Regions from separate parts of the Homo sapiens genome. Here region 1 is linked to region 2. The links are contacts of gene promoters, found by promoter capture Hi-C in blood cells and fetal thymus (Javierre and others, 2016). All regions are on one chromosome and are shown on one strand. The core of a region is centred on a gene start or on the middle of the fragment in contact, and the rest is flanking DNA. Distances in the headings are between cores, read along the strand shown.

What was found. Contacts are between HindIII fragments. The CHiCAGO score rates a contact against its expected background, and 5 or more counts as called.
Region 1: a contact is called between a fragment that was not itself captured here and the fragment with the promoter of CERS5 in region 2, in 2 of 17 cell types (M1 macrophages and M2 macrophages). The highest score is 6.3, in M1 macrophages.

The regions. Positions count from the first base shown.
Region 1 is chr12:50,329,972-50,334,927 of GRCh38, reverse strand. It overlaps FAM186A (family with sequence similarity 186 member A), which reads left to right. Exons shown (of 8, transcript NM_001145475.3): 5 at 825-1,017; 6 at 3,107-3,258; 7 at 4,170-4,355. Among named protein-coding and RNA genes, the nearest start is that of LIMA1, 49 kb to the right of the region's middle. The HindIII fragment of the contact is 1,830 bases long and covers 1,077-2,906 here.
Region 2 is chr12:50,165,429-50,170,902 of GRCh38, reverse strand. It overlaps CERS5 (ceramide synthase 5), which reads left to right and starts at 3,534. Exons shown (of 10, transcript NM_147190.5): 1 at 3,534-3,802. The coding sequence starts at 3,606. LOC124902931 (a long non-coding RNA gene) reads right to left here. Exons shown (of 2, transcript XR_007063304.1): 2 at 5,280-5,474. RefSeq lists enhancers at 2,185-2,946, 2,998-3,157, 4,048-4,187 and silencers at 3,258-3,657, 3,758-3,907. The HindIII fragment of the contact is 9,101 bases long and covers 1-3,636 here.

The DNA.
Region 1 (4,956 bases), core at 742-3,241, 170 kb before region 2:
AAATTTTGTGAAGACTTAATGAAAATTTTGATAATCATATAGATTTTTGAAGGTTCATTCATAGGAACTGGATTAAAGTCTTATTAAGCAAGCTTCCCATCCTTCTCTACTTACTGGGGATGATGAGAGAATTGAAAGAAACTGAGGACAGGTTGGGCATAGTGGCTCACTCCTGTAATCCCAACATTTTGGGAGGCTGTGGCAGGAGGATCGCTTGAGGTCAAGAGTTCAAGACCAGCCTGGACAACATGGCAAAACCCCATCTCTACTAAAAATACAAAAATTAGCTGGGCGTGGTGGTGCACACCTGTATTCCCAGCTACTTGGGAGGCTGAGGCATGAGAATCGCTTGAACCCATGAGGCAGAGGTTGCAGTGAGTCAAGATCACACCACTGCACTCCAGCCTGGGCAACAGAGTGAGACTCTGTCTCAAAAAAATAAAATTAAATTAAAAAGAGGCCATGCTCAGTGGCTCAGGACTGTAATCCCAGCACTTTGGGAGGACAAGGAAAGTGGATCACGAGGTCAGGAGTTTGAGACCAGCCTGACCAACATGGAGAAACCCCGTCTCTACTAAAAATACAAAAATTAGCTGGGCATGGTGGTGCGCACCTGTAGTCCCAGCTACTCAGGAAGCTGAGGCAGGATAATTTCTTGAATCCAGGAGGTGGAGGTTGCAATAAGCCATGATTGCACCATTGCACCTCCAGCCTGGGCAACAAGATCGAAACTCCGTCTCAAAAAAAAAAAAGAAACTGAGGACAAGTTTGTTGAAGTAGGGTCTGCAACTATTATCGCTCTAATTTTTATTAATCTTTTCAAGGAACAACATAATGAAACGACTAAAAGCCATCCAAAATACTGGGAAAGGCTATGAGGCCAGGAACCTCCACATGATGCTGAGCAGACTTGATGACTACGGGAAAAAGGTGATGCAGGTCTGGACTGAGAAGCAGAAGTCTCTAGGGCAGAAACGGAATCAGTGCCTGAAGAAAATGATACACGTATTCAACCAGGTAACCTGCTTTCCACTCCCTCTGTCCAGCATGTTGTAAAAACATGAAAGTGGTAAGCTTTGTAAATGACATTTACCTGGAGACACCATGTCATATTACTTTCCTGGGCTGCTGTAACAAATTACCACAAACTTCATAGCTTAAAACAACAGAAATTTACTCTCTCACAGTTCTAGAGGCCAGAAGTTAGTGAAATCAGGGTGTCTGCCAGGTTGGTTCCTTCTAGAAGCTCTGAGAGGGCATTCTGTTGCATGCTTCTCTCCTAGATTGTGGTGGCTATGGGCAATCCTTAGCATTCCTCAGTTTGTAGCCACATAATTCCAATCTCCGCCTCCATCTTTCAAATGGCCTTTTTTTTTGTTTTGCTTTGTTTTTCGTTTTTTTGAGACAGTCTTGCTCTGTCTCCCAGGGAGTACAGTGGCACTATTTCGACTCGGTGCAAACTCCACCTCCTGGATTCAAGAGATTCTCCTGATTCAGCCTCCCGAGTAGATGGGATTACAGGCGCCCACCACCATGCCCAGCTAAATTTTATATTTTTAGTAGAGATGGGGTTTCACCATGTTGGCCAGGCTGGTTTCGAATTCCTGACCTCAGGTGATCCACCCGCCTCAACCTCCCAAAGTGTTGGGATTACAGGCGTGAGCCACCACGCCTGGCCTGAGTTCTTATAGTAAATATTACAAGCTGTGGTTCTAGAAACATTTTATATCTGTATATCCTTGTCTTTCCTTAAAATCGATTAATTTATAAGATTAGTTTACTTGCTACTTTGGAAGGTACAGAGAGGCTTCTCATCAGAGCCTAATCCAAGTCAAACATATATTGTAAATTTTCAGAACTGTTATATTTTATTTTATTATTTATTTATTTATTTATTTTTGAGATGAGGTCTCACTGTGTCACCCAGGCTGGAGTGCAGTGGCGTGATCTCGGCTCACTGCAACCTCCGCCTCCTGGGTTCAAGTGATTCTCCTGCCTCACCCTCCCGAGTAGTTGGGATTACAGGTGCCTGCCACCATGTCTGGTTAATTTTTGTATTTTTAGTAGAGATGGGGTTTCACCATGTTGGCCAGGCTGGTCTTGGACTCCTGACCTCAAGTGAACCGCCCATGGCAGCCTCCCAAAGTGCTGGGATAGAGGCTTGAGCCACCGTGCCCGGCCCAGAACAGTTATATTTTAAATATTACAGCTCTTTGTCAAAAAAATGAATATTCTCCTTTTTTTGATTTGGCAAATATGGCCAATGTACATAGAGTAAAGCAAGATGGGTTGGCAGCAACATGCGTTATCTAACAGGAATCACAATGCCTAGGGCATTTCAGAGGAGGAATAAGGGTCTGGGGCCAGGGAAGCCAGAATCCAGAGGATGAGGTATGGGTATCAAGGCTTGGAGAAAGGAGACAAAAAAAGCAAAAGGGATAAGAGGTTAGATATGAATGAATACTTTGCACTGAATCAGCATGGTGGTCAAGATGGCTAGCTCCGCTACCAGATTGTCTGGGTTCAAATCAGGCTAGCTACATACTAGCTAAGTGACTTTATGCAAGCCGCTTACATTTTCTGAGCCTCAGATTTTCCTGCTGTAAGACAAGGGTAATTATAAGACATACCGCATAAGGTTGTTATAAATACCAAATCAGCTAATATATGGAAAATGCTTAGTTCAGTGTCTGACATTCACTAAGTATTTAGTAAATGCTGGCTATCATTACAGTTGCATACTGCATCACAATTTATAAAGTGCTTCCATATATACTGTGTTTTACAATTCTCACAACCCTGTGTTATTATCCCTGTTTTAGAAATGAGGAGAAAGAAGTGCAGATAAATTAAGCAACTATCCCAAAGTCTCACAGCAAGAAAATAAGAGGACCAGGACTTAAGCTTAAGTAGGACAAAGGTTTTTATGTAGCAGAGCTGCCACCTCTAAAATGATGCATGTTGGAGGTGGGTGGAGTAGGGAGAGGATTTGCAAATCCATGGAAAAGGAGGAGTCACAGTTTAGTCTAGGGCCAGCTCTGAAGACCCTTCTAAAGATTCTGTCTCTTTTCATGGTTTCCTTTTTCTGATCTATTTTTTTTTATAGCTCAAAAAGATACATGAATTGAATCTTAGTCAACCTATCCCCTTAATCATCGAAGAAAAGCAGATACCTGCCTCTACCACATTTGTTCAAAAGCCATTCTTAAAATTACTAATGGAAGAGGACAGAACCTCTGACATATGCAAGAAATTTAGGTATGTGCTAGAAAGACTGATATTAAACTTTGGACGATATGTGGGACCTAATTTTTTTTTCCCTGCCCAAGAACTTCCCTTTCTCCACAATTATCAAATGGTGCAATGGAGAGTCTAAAGGAGTATTAGGCTGGGCGCGGTGGCTCATGCCTGTAATCCCAGCACTTTGGGAGGCCGAGGCAGGTGACTCATCTGAGGTCGGGAGTTCAAGACCAGCCTGACTAACATGGAGAAACCCCATCTCTACTAAAAAAAGTACAAAATTAGCCCGGCATAGTGGTGCATGCCTGTAATCCCAGCTAGTTGGGAGGCTGAGACAGGAGAATCGCTTGAACCTGGGTGGCAGAGGTTGCGGTGAGCCGAGATCGTGCCATTGCACTCCAGCCTGGGCAACAGCGAAACTCTGTCTCAAAAAAAAAGAGTATTAATTCCCTTAGCTAAATTGGCAAGAGGTTAATTTACATATATTTCTACTTAAATATTTAACATTGGATTGTGAGTTCCTCTAAAAATAAAGCTGATTCTTTCTTACTAAAAAACAAATTCTTTTAAGAATATTTAATAAAGAAACTTAGAAGCATTATCTTCTCTTTTTCTTCTATTTTTTTTTAAGGAGGCAGGAGCTTTGGGAAGGAAGGGGGCAAGTTATGTGGTCTCTCTACGCCATGAAGCTAAAATGGTAGTTTTAAAATGGATTACTAGGTGAAGCCATGCAAATGCAGCTTTGGTAACTCAGCGAATTCTGCTTTTTCATCCATCTCTCTGTCAAAGTGGGCATAGCTAATGCTGGTCAGTGCAAGGGGAAGGCATTATAGGACAAGGTGGCAGTGAAGAGGGGAGAATAAGATATATTTTGATGGGCTATGGAGCTCAGGAGAATTTGGCGTTCCCAATTTATGCTGATTCTGTAGGCAACAAGAGGACCAGACAGAGGCCATCTGGAATGTTGATCTGTCCACTTCAAGCTACCCAATAGCAGAGAAGACATCTATGCATTCACTCTGGGCCCAGCTGGGTGGGTACCCAGATATTCCCAGGCTGCTTCAGTTAGAAGTGCAGTCTACCTTCCGAAAATCTCTTGCATCCCTCCAATCACGGTAAGTTATGGACTGGAAGCACTCTGGTAATTGGGCCTTTGATCATATACCTTTTGGTTCCCTAACTTGACTTTCTCCTGTAGCACCAGGTACATCAACCAAAAGTAATGTTTGGTATGAGGTTAGACTCACACCAGTCATAAAATAGTACAGGTAAATTCAGCATTAGTCTGTTAGTGTTTCTAATCATAGGCCTATAGATGTCACCACTGAATAATGTAAAACAAACAAAAAACCAGTTATAATACCATGAATCTAATCTAACACTAGATAGGTCCACTTTTAATTCCATCCTTGGGGATTTGTTAATAGAAGTACCAGAAAGACCATTGTAGAATGCTTTTCTCCATATTATGATTCAGTGACATGAGCTTAAGTGCAATTATCATATCTAGACCCAAATTGAGTAAATTAGGTGTTTACTTCCTAGGATACACTGAAGAGATGACTCCACATTTCCAAAATCTGTTGAACCAGATTCTCACTTAAACCACTAGAAATTATTCCAGAGGAAATAAGGGCTTTAGAGTCTGCATTAACTCTTTCAGGACAGATAATTATTTAATATTCTAAATCAAGAATTTAGAAAATCGAACTTTTG
Region 2 (5,474 bases), core at 2,285-4,784:
GCAGGAGAATGGCGTGAACCCGGGAGGTGGAGCTTGCAGTGAGCTGAGATCCCGCCACTGCACTCCAGCCTGGGCGACAGAGCGAGACTCCGTCTCAAAAAAAAACAAAAAACAAAAAACAAAACAAAACAAACAAACAAAAAAAACACTTTAGGCTGGGCGGAGTGGCCTCACGCCTGTAGTCCCAGCACTTTGGGAGTGTGAGAAATCGGAAAGTTCTTCAAAGATTATAAAAAGTCACAATTTCTTACTATAAGATTGCTATCCACTGTGTGTGTGTGTGTGTGTGTATGTATGTGTGTGTGTGTGTGTGTGTGTGTGTGTGTGTGTGTGTGTATTCCAAATCAGCTGTCCTAGATTGCTCCTGCATGCCTGGACAGAACTAGACAAGCCCCAGCCCACAGTGCATGCCATTCCTTATTTGGTGATGCTTCCTTAATGATCCCTGGGCAACTTCCTTTTCTTTCTTTGTTCTGTTCCCCTTAACCAATTTTAAAAGTTTTAAACTAATAGCCAATCAGGTAAAGTGTAAAATGTGAGGTCCTATTCCAGCCAATGGAAAATGGACACAGCAGTAGGGTAGACACCTCAGATTATAAATAACTCTGTCTCCTTTGTTCGGTGTGCTCTCATGGCTAGACAGCTTTTGAGTAGCAGCACCCTTTCTGCAGAAAGTAAAGCTCTCCTTGCTGAGAGATCATTTGTTCCCGTGTTTTTTTGTTTTTGTTTTGTTTTCTTTTCTTTTCTTTTTGCAACACCAAAAACTTCATTCCCAACAGGGATACTGAGACAGGCAGATCACTTGAAGTCAGGAGTTCGAGACCAGCCTGGCCAACATGGTGAAACCCCAGGCTCTATCAAAAAATACAAAAATTAGTCGGGTGTGGTGGCACGTGTCTGTAGTCCCAGCTACTCGGGAGGCTGAGAAGGGAGGATCTCTTGAACCCAGAGGTGGAGGTTGCAGTGAGCAGAAATGGCACCACTGCGCTCCAGCCTGGGTGTGAGACTCCTTCTCACAAAAAAACATGCAAACAAACAAAACAGCCAAATTTAAAGGAGTTTTTTGTTTGTTTGTTTGTTTTGTTTTTTCTTTCCAAGACAAAGTCTCACTCCGTTGCCCAGGATAGAGTGCAGTGGTGCTATCTCAGCTCACTGCAACCTCCGCCTCCTGGGTTCAAGCGATTCTCTTGCCTCAGCTTCCCAAGTAACTGGGACTACAGACACGCACCACCACGCCCAGCTAATTTTTGTATTTTTAGTAGAGACGGAGTTTCACCATGTTAGCCAGGATGGTCTCGATCTCCTGACCTGTGATCCGCCTGCCTCGGCCTCCCAAAGTGCTAGGATTACAGGCGTGAGCCACCGTGCCCAGCCTAAAGGAGTTTGAGCAATGTATGATTCTCAAATTGGGCAGCCCCTGAATCACAGCAGATTCAGAGAGACCCAGCATATCCACAGAGACCCAGCATATTCACGTGGTGGAAGATTTATGGACAGCAAAATGAAAGTGAGGTACAGAAACAACCAGATTGGTTACAGATCAGCGTTTGTCTCATTTGAACGTGGTTGGAACAGTTGGCTACATTTGATTGGCCAAAATTCAGTGATTGGCACTGGTGTGGTCTACGTTCGATTTACACCTCCACTTGTTACAGTTCACAATGTACAGAAAACCTTTAGGCCGAACTTAAATATGTAAGGAGGCAGCTTTAGATTAAACTTGACTTAACACTAGCTACCACTTCTTACCTACATAACTTTGGGCAAGTTGTTTGGCCTCACTGGACCTCAGTTTACTTATCCAGTGGGGATAACAAGATCAACTTTATAGGGTGAAGGAGTGAAATAACCTGTGTAAAATGTTCCATGCAGTGCCTGGCACACAGGAAACCTCATCAAACATTGGCTATTTATTTTGTTTTGCCTTTAGGTCCTTTAGATATACTTTTTTTTTTTTTTTTTTTGAGACGAGTCTCACTTTGTCGCCCAGGCTGGAGTGTAGTGGCGCAATCTGGGCTCACTGCAAGCTCCGCCTCCCGGGTTCACGCCATTCTCCTGCCTGAGCCTCCCAAGTAGCTGGGACTACAGGCGCCCGCCACCATGCCTGGCTAATTTTTTGTATTTTAATAGAGATGGGGTTTCACCGTGTTAGCCAGGATGGTCTCGATCTCCTGACCTCATGATCCGCCCGCCTCGGCCTCCCAAAGTGTTGGGATTACAGGCGTGAGCCGCGCCCGGCCTTTTTTTGTTTGTTTTTGTTTTGAGACGCTCTGTTGCCTAGGCTGGAGGGCAATGGCGTGGTCTCGGCTCACTGTGATCTCCGCCTCAAGCAATTCTCCTGCCTCAGCCTCCCGAGTAGCTAGGATTACAGGCATGCACCACCACACCCGGGTAATTTTTGTATTTTTAGTAGGGACGGGGTTTCACCATGGCCAGCCTGGTCTCGAACTCCTTACCTCAGGTGATTCTTCCGCCTTGGCCTTCCAACGTGCTGGGATTACAGGCGTGAGCCACCACACCCGGCCTGCCTTTACGTATACTTTTTGAGTGCTTCCCTTTTCACTTTGTTTTTCTTCCATTTCCTTTTCCCCAAGAGAAGAATAAAAGGATTTTTGTAAACTTTTTTTATTTTTATTTTGGGACGGAGTCTTTGGTCTGTCGCCCAGGCTGGAGTGCAATGGCGCGATTTCGGCTCACTGCGACCTCCGCCTCCCAGGTTCAAGCGATTCTCCTGTCCCAGCTTTCCGAGTAGCTGGGATTACAGGCACAGCGCCACCAGGCCCAGCTAATTTTTGTATTTTTAGTAGAGACGGGGTTTTGCCATGTTGGCCAGGCTGGTCTCGAACTCCTGACCTCAGGTGATCCGCCAGCCTCGGCCTCTGAAAGTGCTGGGATTACAGGCGTGAGCCACCGCGCCCGGCCTTTTGTAAACTGTTAAGTCCATTTTTTCTGAGGAAAAGTGACTAATTTTTAAGGGATAAAGCAGTGAAAGTAGGCTGAGGTCACGGGGCACGAAGGGAAGAAAAGGTTGGGAGCGAAAAGAACTCTAGTGGCGGACAGTAGTGGGCAGGACCAGCTGACATCCAAGAGAAGCCCTGACCTGAGAGATCGATCTGGCCTCCGGGAGTGGAGACAGAGGTACCGCCTGGGTGGGAGCCGGAACGGATTCGATTCCAACAGGCTGAGAAAGGAGAATGTCCCCGTAAAGGAGCTAGGCCTGAAATAAGGGGTGTGGCCGTAGCTGGATGGAAGAGTGAGGGAGGAGTAGAAGCGTGGCCTAGACCAGCAGCAAAAGAGGGCGGGCCCAGGGCCGCCCGAGGCGTGGTCCCAGGGCCGGGCTGGGCGAGTCAGAGGCTCGGGAAGGGGCGTGGATCCCCGGAGGCGGTCCCCGGGTTGCAGTGAGGGAAGTGGGCCGGGAGGAGAGATGGGCGGTGAAGAGGCCCGGCCCTGCCAGGGAGGCGGGCGGATCCGTGGCAGTGACCAGAAGGGGCCGGAAGGGGGTGGCCGCCGGCCGGGCCCCGCCCTGGGGCCGCCTCCCCGCGGGTTCCGTTGGCTGTGGCGGCAGCTGACGCTTGTGGCGGCGGTGGCTTCGGGGTGGGCGTAAGATGGCGACAGCAGCGCAGGGACCCCTAAGCTTGCTGTGGGGCTGGCTGTGGAGCGAGCGCTTCTGGCTACCCGAGAACGTGAGCTGGGCTGATCTGGAGGGGCCGGCCGACGGCTACGGTTACCCCCGCGGCCGGCACATCCTCTCGGTGTTCCCGCTGGCGGCGGGCATCTTCTTCGTGAGGCTGCTCTTCGAGCGGTGAGAGCCCGGGAGCGAGCGGCTCGGGGGCCGGGCGCGGGCCGGGGGCGCCCCGCTGTGGGAAGGGCCGAGGGCCGGAAGCAGAACTGCAAGGAAAGCCCGGAAGCAGGGGCTGGGGGAGCTTGGGCCGCGGCGGGTGATGCTAGGCGCGTGGGCGAGGTGGTAGCCTAGATGGAGAAGGAGTTTGGGGCGTGGGCAAGAGAAAGAGTGAGGGTCTAGGGGAATGCTGGGCCCCTTCAATGTTAGATCCGGAGTTGGATTGGGGGGGTCATATAGGCCTCCTCCCAACCTCCAAGGGTCCTACAGATGAGGAAACAGGTTCAGTGTGAGCTCTGGCAGAGGCCCCGAAGAGAGGGATAGGAAGGGGCCAGGAGAACCAGAGCTAGTTGTGACCATGGAAGCCGAGGGGTCAACGCAAGGGCCAGACGTTCCAAGGGAAAGGAATGGACTCATCAGACTCTTAAGATTTGTTAGGACGCTTGAGTTTCCGAGAATTGGGGGGAACAGGATTAGTTTGGCCCTAAGAGTTGGTTTGGTATGTCAACTCATGCACGTTTGTTGGTAGGAGGGTAGAAATCTGGTTGGGATAGGGTGTGGTGGAGCCCTAGGCTTCCAAAGTAATGGAAAGATGTCAGATTAGTTGCAGAACAGGCCTTGGGGCCTGAAATGGAAGGAGGAGTGTGTTCGAAGGGATGGAGGAGAGCCACAGGGCTTTATCAGAGGACAGCTATATTGAGCCAGATTCTTTTTTCTTTTCTTTTTTTTTTTTTTTTTTTTGAGACAGAGTTTCGCTCTTGTTGCCCAGGCTGGCGTGCAATGGCACGATCTCGGCTTACCGCGACCTCCGCCTCCCCTGTTGAAGCGATTCTCCTGCCTCAGCCTCCCGAGTAGCTGGAATTACAGGCACGCGCCACCACGCCCGGCTACTTTTTGTATTTTTAGTAGAGACGGGGTTTCGCCATGTTGGCCAGGCTGGTCTGTAACTCCTGACCTCAAGTGATCCGCCCGCCTCTGCCTCCCAAAGTGCTGGGATTACAGGCGTGAGCCACCGCACCCGGCCTTGAGCCAGCTTCTAAATGAGTTTAGCAGAATTGCAGTATACTTTGTTCAACCACATGATTTCACCTTTAAGTGAATGGATCATATGTTTGTCCAAGATAAAGATATTCACTGAGGCTTTGGTGTGTGATATTATAATGTGAATTTATACCTGTGGGTGATTTTGATCAAGTCTACTCAGACTCCAAGAAAGGAGACATGTTTCTGCCATAGGCCTCAGGTAATGAGGGTGGTTCTTGGACATCTGTTCGTTTTGCCTTTATCCAAGCATAAATGATTGTAATGCAGGAATGCCCTTTCTAGGATGGGAATATGTTGCAGGTGAAATAATCTGTTAATTTCTGAAAGATAGCATCTGTTTGGGATTGCTTCTTTGATTTGCCTACTGTTTTTGACTCAAGTCTTTCAAAATCTTGTGTTCTATTTAGCTAGTCACGCATCCATTTATTCGTAGTATTTGTGCATCATCATCATCAAAATGCTCTGCCAGACGTTCAAGTGCAAAAATAAAGATGCTTAAGTGAAGCAAATGAAACCCAAAGATCTAAATGGCTTTCCTTGGCCCTCAGGAACTTAGTGTAGCAAGGTTTTTTTTTTTTTCTTTTTCTTTTTC